Linked DNA regions of Homo sapiens: region 2 is linked to region 1. Evidence: promoter capture Hi-C in 16 types of primary human blood cells and fetal thymus (Javierre and others, 2016). All regions are on one chromosome and are shown on one strand. The core of a region is centred on a gene start or on the middle of the fragment in contact, and the rest is flanking DNA. Distances in the headings are between cores, read along the strand shown. Region 1 holds the start of MISFA (mitochondrial sheath formation associated). Region 2 overlaps SAAL1 (serum amyloid A like 1).

Region 1 (4,330 bases), core at 708-3,207:
GCACAGAAAGGAGTTACCCAACTGAGCATTTCACTGAGTTGAAGAGAAAGATAGCAAAATACAGCAGAGGCCAGAATTTGCAGGATGGAGTGCTAAGAAGAGGGATCTCCATGGAGAAAGCTCTGTAGATTTCCACAGGGGCCCTTATAAGTCTTTGGCTGAGTTCTGTCTGCACATATATGGGATAAAACTCGATGAGGCCTGGAAAAGATCCACCCAAAAGCAGTCGGCCAAACACTTCTTGGAGTTCCTGAAGGGCAGGGAATTGTGGAACATTCCACAGATTTGGAAGATCTATGCCGGGCACAGTGGCTCACACCTGTAATCCCAGCACTTTGGGAGACTGAGGCGGGCGGATCACCTGAGGTCAGGAGTTCGAGACCAGACTAACCAACGTGGAGAAACCCTGTCTCTACTAAAAATACAAAATTAGCCGGGCGTGGTGGTGCATGCCTGTAATCCCAGCTACTCAGGAGGCTGAGGCAGGAGAATCACTTGAACCCAGGAGGCGGAGGTTGCAGTGAGCCAAGATCACGCCCTTGCACTCCAGCTTGGGCAACAAGAGCAAAGCTCTGTCTCCAAAAAAAAAAAAAAAAAAAAAAAAAAGCTCTAATACAATCAGCCTCAGAGAAGGTGCTCAGAGAAAATGGTCATTAACTCAGCAGTGCGGATATTAACCCTAGAGTAAAGGCTGCTCCTGGCCTATCATAAAGCTTCAAACAAGCCTCAGAAGAATCAAACTGATCGCAAGTAACTTAAGTGCACCTTAGAATAAAATTTAACACTGTTGAATACAACAAAATCCAGCACTCGGCAATAAAATTTACCATGTTCAACATCTAATCAAAAGTTGTAAGACATTTAAAGAAGCAGGAAATATCACAACAGGCCAGGCGCGGTGGCTCATGCCTGTAATCCCAGGACTTTGAGAGGCTGAGGCGGGTGGATCACCTGAGGTCAGGAGTTCGAGACCAGCCTGGCCAACATGGTGAAACACCATCTCTACTAAAAATACAAAAATTAGCCAGGCGTGGTGGCGGGTGCCTCTAATCCCAGCTACTTGGGAGGCTGAGGCAGGAGAATCACTTGAGCCCAGGAGGCGGAGGTTGCAGTGAGCTGAGATTGCACCACTGCACTCCAGCCTGGGCGACAGAGCAAGACTCTGTCTCAAAAAAAAAAAAATTGTAGAGATGAAAAATACATTAAATGTCCATGATGTTGTAGCAGAAAAGCAAAAAATATCTTTGGTGACCTCTGAGAGGGTGTCTAATAGTGGGGTGGGGCTAGAAGTCAGAATGTAATGCATGGAAGAGGCGTAGATTGGAAAAAGCTTTGAGTATGGACCACTTGTTTAGGAAGTTTGGTCATAAAAGGAAATTAAGAAATAAGACAGGGAAGGAGCCACAGTATCATCTGGAAGTTTTTTTGAGGAAAGGACAGGGGTACCTGTGGCTTCATGATGGCCAAGAAAAGAGAATCAATGGAGAGGAACTAATCCAAGGTGATGAAGATGTGGATATACCATCATGCTGAGGATCCCCTTGACATGGGGAGAGGAGGTTTTGCAGGGACAGAAATAGAGACATCTGTCTCATTTACCTGTAATTCAGTTTGTTTCGTTCACATGTCGTACACCTAGCAGCAAAACACCTTTCCAAATCTCTGCCTCTAGTGTAAAGAGCCCAGCTGCCCAAGAGGCAGCTGAGTCCTAAGTCTTGGCCCTGATCTGGAGCATCAGCTATGTGCTGTAGTGCGGGTCACTTAGGCTGTAGTCTAAGCCTTAGTTTTCTGATTAGTGAAATGGGGTTAACAATAATGCCTACTTCATAGTGTTGCTGTTTGCTGCTCAGCTGCTGGTCTGGGGGCAGTGTCTCTGGTGTGTTTTGAGTCTGGGCCATATGGTCAATGATGTCACAATGCCCTACTAGATTTCAGCTTCTCCACTAGGGAGTTGTGGATCCTTTGGAGCCAAAGACTCGAACAGACATGCGAGACCTCTACCAACTGAAGGTTTCGTGAGCGCACTCCTTTGCCAAGATCTTGGTGAATAGTCTTTCACTGTGCAATTTTATCTTAGAAATTGTTTTACGTTTGATCATGATTGTGCTTGGCTGGATGTTTTTTGTTGGACTTGTGTGTTACATGGGCACGTTTCCAGAGTTGATGGTAAGTAATGGCTCTGCCTGTAAATCCCTGGTGGTCAGTCCTGTGCTGGCTCATCTTCCTGTCTGGGTTTTCTGACCAAATGGGAAAGATAGTTGAGGTCTCACCACTAACTGGAAGTCAGAATGTGATGGGAACAAAGTTAGTGTCCCAGGCTACCGGGCTACTTCCCATCCCACTAGGGACATCCTTTTTTATTTTTTATTTATTATTATTATTATTTTTTGAGATGGAGTTTTGCTCTTGTTGCCCAGGCTGGAGTGCAGTGGCGCGATCTCGGCTCACTGCAACCTCCGCCTCTCAGGCTCAAGCGATTCTCCTGCCTCAGCCTCCTGAGCAGCTGGGATTACAGGCATGCACCACCACGCCTGGCGAATTTTGTGTTTTTAGTAGAAACAGGGTTTCTCCATGTTGGTCAGGCTGGTCTCAAAGTCCTGACCTCAGGTGATCCACCCACCTCGGCCTCCCAAAGTGCTGGGATTACAGGCATGAGCCACCACGCCTGGCTGGGGACATCCTTTTTTTTTTTTTTTTTTTTTTTTTGGAGACGGAGTCTTGCTCTGTCGCCCAGGCTGGAATGCAGTGGTGCGATCTCGGCTCACTGCAAGCTCTGCCTCCTGGGTTCATGCCATTCTCCTGCCTCAGCCTCCCGAGTAGCTGGGACTACAGGCTCCCACCACCATGCTTGGCTAATTTTTGGTATTTTTAGTAGAGACGGGGTTTCACTGTGTTAGCCAGGATGGTCTAGATCTCCTAACTTCGTGATCCGCCTGCCTCGGCTCCCCAAAGTGCTGGGATTACAGGCGTGAGCCACTGCGCCCGGCCAGGACATCCTTTTAAGTCTTTTTTTGTTTCCCCCTCCCTTGCATATATAGCTGTACTTGTTTCAAAGCACTATGGAATTTGCAAGGGGTCTGCTGGAGACCGTATTTGACTTGCGGATTGCAGGCCAAGTGGATCAGTGGTTATTGGTAGGAAGGGGGACGGTAGGGATTGGTGGGACCTTTTAGCAGCCCTTCTGGTCACCACACAGAGTGGTTACCCACTGGGCCAATGAGTAGAGCCATCTCTGCCCTCAAATTTTCTTTCTGATTCAGCCTCCAACTCTGAAGTGGCAGGAGAGGTGGCCTGTTCAGGAGAGCAAAACACAACTGAGGAGGCGGGCTTTAGGTGAAGATCTGCTGCAGTAAGTGGGTGGTCAGGTCTGGTGGGTTGGATTCCTCCCTTTCCAAAGTACTTGGTAGCACCCTGAAGTCTCAGTGGAGAATGTTTATTCCTCTGGAAAATATAATAAACTGTGGAAGGGGAAATGATTTGGTGAGTACTGCTGAGGACAGCAGGCCAAAGTTGTCTATTAATAACCATGTCTCATAGGTGTTGTTTTGAAGACTGTTCCCATCTATTATTTTTCTCCTCACAACACTGTAATATATTATACTATTAATAGCATTCTTTTTTTTTTTTTTTTTTCTGAAACAGGTCTTGCTCTGCCACCCAGGCTGGAGTGAGGTGCAAGCAGTCTTCCCATCTCAGCTTCTTGGGTAGCTGATCCTCAGGCACATGCCACCATGCCTGGCTAATTTTTTTTTTATTTTTTTAGAGACAAGGTGTCACTATGTTGCCCAGGCAGGTCTTGAACTCCAGGCCTCAAGTGGTCCCCCAGCCTTGGCCTCCCAGAGTGCTGGGATTGCAGGCATAAACCACCGTGCCTTGCCAGGACCAGCATTTTTAACGTCCCTTTTGGCAGATACTGAAACTGGAGTTAACATTGAACTTGGGTTTAGGTCCTAACTTTGTGACTTTCTAGCTACGTGACCTTGGGAAAGTTTAATTAGTTTCTTTGAACTTCAGTTTCGAAGTTTCTTCTGTACAACAGGAGATATCACTATTTTTGTGAAGATTATATTTGGGAATTAATGTAAAGCATTTAATGCAAAGCTCAAAAATTAGCATTTAGTAAAATACTAACTTAACAACAAGCAAATAATGAACCAGTCAACAAAGATTTACTGGTGACAGTGACCTCAACTATTTACCTGAGGCCACACACAGTAGCTCGTTGGTAAAGGTGGGATGCGAGCACATTTCTCTGTCTCTGGACTTCATAGCCTCCCATACTCATTCCACTAGACCAGCCTGCCTACAGGAAACACTAATGGCAGTGCCC
Region 2 (4,257 bases), core at 1,667-4,166, 520 kb before region 1:
AAATATCTTAAAAACAAAACAAAACAAAACAAAACAAAAACAAAAACAGTGGAAGGAAACCATGCCTTCTTTCTTAGTGGTTTAGGTACTTAAAATATCAAACTCAATATAACAAATGCTAACTCAAGCTCATTTTGCATTTTTCCTCTTCCCTGCCAAACAGTATAGGGAAAAAAATGAGTTTCCATTTCATTTGTGTATATAATTTCATCTGTATATAAAATTTCATATTTATGGTTCTGGAGAAAGCACCATTTCAAAATATCACTGCAACTGATTCAAGCACTAAATCTTGTGAGTGAATTCTTCAGAACATGCAGCATTAAAAATGCTTTAACACTGGTCACTTAAAAGTATCATAATTTATAGATATAGGATGTTTTCAAACATACCAAAGTACTATGAAAATATGTACCAAAACTCATAATGCTAACAATAAAGAAGTAACAAAGTAAACAGTGTAGGTCCAAGACAGAAATGTGAGCAGAAAATAAATTGGACACTCCTTGCCTTCCCACTACTATCCTTTCTCCTCCTCCCTCTGTAATTTGCCATTTTTGTGGAACACTCCTTCAGGTACATAAGGTCCTTGTGCTTCCCGTTTTAAAACACGCTCTCAGAAGGCTGGGCGTGGTGGCTCACGCCTGTAATCCCAGCACTTTGGGAGGCCGAGGCGGGCGGATCATGAAGTCAGGTCGAGACCATCCTGGCTAACACGGTGAAACCCCGTCTCTACTAAAAATATTTAAAAAATTAGCTGGGCGTGGTGGCTGGTGCCTGTAGTCCCAGCTACTCGAGAGGCTGAGCCAGGAGAATGGCGTGAACCCGGGAGGCGGAGCTTGCAGTGAGCCGAGATCCCGCCACTGCACTCCAGCCTGGGCGATAGAGCAAGACTCCGTCTCAAAAAAAAAGAAAAAAAATTAAAAACAAACAAACAAAAAAACAACAAAAAACATGCTCTCAGAAAAAAAGTGAAATTCATATGCACTGAGGTAAACATAACTAATAACCTCAAGTATTATTCTTAATCAGTGTTTGCATCTTAAGCTTAAACTTAAACAAAAAAAAAACCAAGAGTGGAATTTTCGTGTCAGCTAGCAGGTAGGAGTGATTTCATCAGTGCCTTTGAAATCTCATACTGAATATAGTCAATTCAGTCTACCAATAAGGTCAGCACTGAGGACATGCGAATATACATACAGTGTAGTATATATAAACCTACCAATGAGATTTCACCTGTAAGATTTTACTTTTATGTTCCAGTTCTTTTCAGCAGTGACACTTCCAACCATAAACCTACCTCTAAACTGGAAATCATATTATCTCTTACCAATAAGATTACTGTTTTTATCACCAAAAATCTGGTTTTATCACCAAAAATCTCTCAAGGAAAGAAAACAAAGTATGAGGCAAGACCAATGCTTTAAAGCCAAAAAACTGATATAAATTGGGAAGGGGCTATACCAAAAGTGAGGTTCAGAAAGCTGGCTTTGTTATTCCTAACAGATATTTTCTTAAAAATCTATTAAAAAGCACCCCCCCAACCCAGCCAAACACACATAAAGACTTGGTAGGAAAAAGCCCCTTCTCTTTCTCCCTTTTTCTTCCTGAATGTGGATAAAGGCCCAGAGATGGCACAGCCCCCTTAACCACAAGGCAATAAACATGAACGCAAAGGCCTACCTGGCAGACCACGTGAAGGGTGAAAGGAGCCACCTCATTACATCTGGATTTTTGCATAAGGTTCCTGAAAGAGATCAGATTCAGCTGCTACAGGAGGGTTTCTGTTACTGCAGCTGAATATACTTAACAGTGGATACAAAGACGTAATTCTCACTTAAAAAAATCAAATTAGGCTGGGCACGGTGGCTCACGCCTGTAATCCCAGCACTTTGGGAGGCCAAGGCGGGCAGATCACGAGGTCAGATCGAGACCATCCTGGCTAACACAGTGAAACCCTGTCTCTACTAAAAATACAAAAAATTAGCCAGGCGTGGTGGCGGGCACCTGTGGTCCCAGTTACTCGGGAGGCTGAGGCAGGAGAATGGCATAAACCCAGGAGGCGGAGCTTGCAGTGAGCTGAGATCGCACCACTGCACTTCAGCCTGGGCGACAGAGTGAGACTCTGTCTCAAAACAAACAAACAAACAAACAAAATTAACAGCTATGAAGAAAATCAACACTGATCTCGCACATATCCTAAAAAGAACCTCAATGATAAGCTTACATTTTTGCTTTCCTCAACTGAGGATGATAAATATCACATAAAAAGAGGGGTGACAGTGGTGAAACCTCAGATTCCAAAGTCAAAAAAAGTGAGACAAGTCTAGGACAGAAAAATGTTAACACCAGACAATTATGGTCTAATATGGGCTTTAGTTAATATTTCCAATAAGTCAATTTCAACTGTCAGTGAGAAAAATAAAGTTTATTTCTTGTACAGAAGTAATTCCAATTCAGGTTTTAAGTCTGAACCTTCAAACTTGGGAAGTTTTTTTCCAAGTCATCAGCAAGCGCCTTATCAACTTCACGTAGGATTTTAATAAAATCTTCCACCTGTGAGTCAAACAAACAAACAAAAATCAAACACAGAAGAGAAAAACGTGCTTTAAGGTACTGATTGCTCTACCTGTGGTTTCTAAATGGTCCAATGGAAAAGAAATGCTGGCAGATCTCCAGATGATAGTAACAGTACTTCCTAAGCAGTCTTCTAAATCATTCTCAAGGAAATGACTATGCTTTCCCATTCCGTTTTACTCTTGAGCTAGTACTTCTCCCCCCGCCTCTTCTTTACAGTCTGTTCCCACATTCTGTCCTTCATTTTCCTGAAAAAGTTCCTATTTTGAAATCTGATTCTAATGGTAGGAAATGTGATGTCATTTGAAGAACCATAAAAACCTACTGACTATTCCCAAGAATCTGATTTTGGCTTAATATAGATGTTATCTACTTCATAACAGAAAGGAGTACTATAAATTCAGAGCTTATTTTTTTCCTCTTAGAATTGTTACTCCCAATACTATTATGAATTTTCCAGTAGTCATCTTTTTTTCCCTCAACTTTTATTGTAGACTCAGGGGAGTCTAAATGTGCAGGTTTGTTATAAAGGTATATTACATGATGCCGAGGTTTGAGGCACAGATGAACCTGTTACCCAGGCAGTGAGCTTAGTACCCAATAGGTAGTTTTTCAGCCCTTGCCCTCCCTCTCTCCCTCCCCTCCTCCTGTGGTCCCCAGTGTCTACTGCTCCCATTTGTATGTCCATAGTATCCAATGGTTTAGCTCCTACTTCCAAGTGAGAACATACGGTATTTGGTTTTCTGTTTCCAGCAGTCATCTATCTGACAAAGGCATTAAGTCATATAAATTGTATATACTATCATTTTTGACAATGACCTCGAAATCAAGTGCTTACTTGAAAACATTTAGTAATCCTACAAAACTTGGCCACCTATATACATTTACCCATACTCACCACAGGGCTATAGAAAGGAAGAAGGTTTTGAAATGCAGAGGAACACTTCTGTTTGCTCAACTGGCCTTCCTTTACTCCCTGAGCCACCGTCTCCTAAAACAACAACAAGATTTAATGTCAAAAAAGGAAAATTTTTCAAGCTTTAACTAGTGAATAAAAACAAATCAGGATATTCAATTCCCTCCTGACTTCATAGGCATTTCAAATGTCCCACCTGAACCCACCAACATCAAGGAGGCTTATGTAACCCAAACATGTTCTCCACTGTCGTCTTTACTTTAGTGAAGGGCACCACCATCCACCCTGCTACACAGACTACAAACTTGGAACACAGCCAAGACTTTTCCTTCTCCCCTCCTGCTGACTCCTCCCGGCAAGTGCTCAATTCTATTCTACCAAATCTCTCTTACCCCCATCCCTCCTCTCCATTCAAACTTCCATTGTTTAGGCTGCCATCATTTTTCAGATTATTCTTGAAGATTACCAACCACAAGAGCCTGTTAGTTGATCTCCTGCCCTCCAGCCTCAACTCTCTCTACTCCTTCCTCTCTATTGCTTTTGGAGTAATCTTTCTAAACTGATCGTATCACTTGGTGCTTAAAAGTAAAAAATCTTTAGTAGTTCCTCAGCTTTTTCAAGATGAAGTCTAAATCCCCTAAATATGACATAAGAATTTGCATGACATAGCACTCGTGTATTCTCAGCCCACCTTTCTTTGATGTTCCCACCACTTAAAAGTTAAGAAATATCGATGTCCCTTGCTCCAAAAAACAGAAACAACA

The links. The method cuts DNA at HindIII sites, captures the fragments that hold promoters and counts their contacts. A CHiCAGO score of 5 or more calls a contact.
Region 2: a fragment that was not itself captured here is called in contact with the fragment with the promoter of MISFA in region 1 in 1 of 17 cell types (total B cells); the score reaches 5.2 in total B cells.

The regions. Positions count from the first base shown.
Region 1 is chr11:18,597,832-18,602,161 of GRCh38, forward strand. It overlaps MISFA (mitochondrial sheath formation associated), which reads left to right and starts at 1,958. Exons shown (of 4, transcript NM_001355570.4): 1 at 1,958-2,166; 2 at 3,261-3,349. The coding sequence starts at 2,098. It overlaps LOC112268073 (a long non-coding RNA gene), which reads right to left and starts at 1,716. Exons shown (of 4, transcript XR_002957242.2): 1 at 1,600-1,716. The HindIII fragment of the contact is 4,225 bases long and covers 1,329-4,330 here.
Region 2 is chr11:18,077,936-18,082,192 of GRCh38, forward strand. It overlaps SAAL1 (serum amyloid A like 1), which reads right to left. Exons shown (of 12, transcript NM_138421.3): 11 at 3,476-3,568; 12 at 2,357-2,556. The coding sequence ends at 2,464. Among named protein-coding and RNA genes, the nearest start is that of SAAL1, 26 kb to the right of the region's middle. The HindIII fragment of the contact is 1,393 bases long and covers 2,221-3,613 here.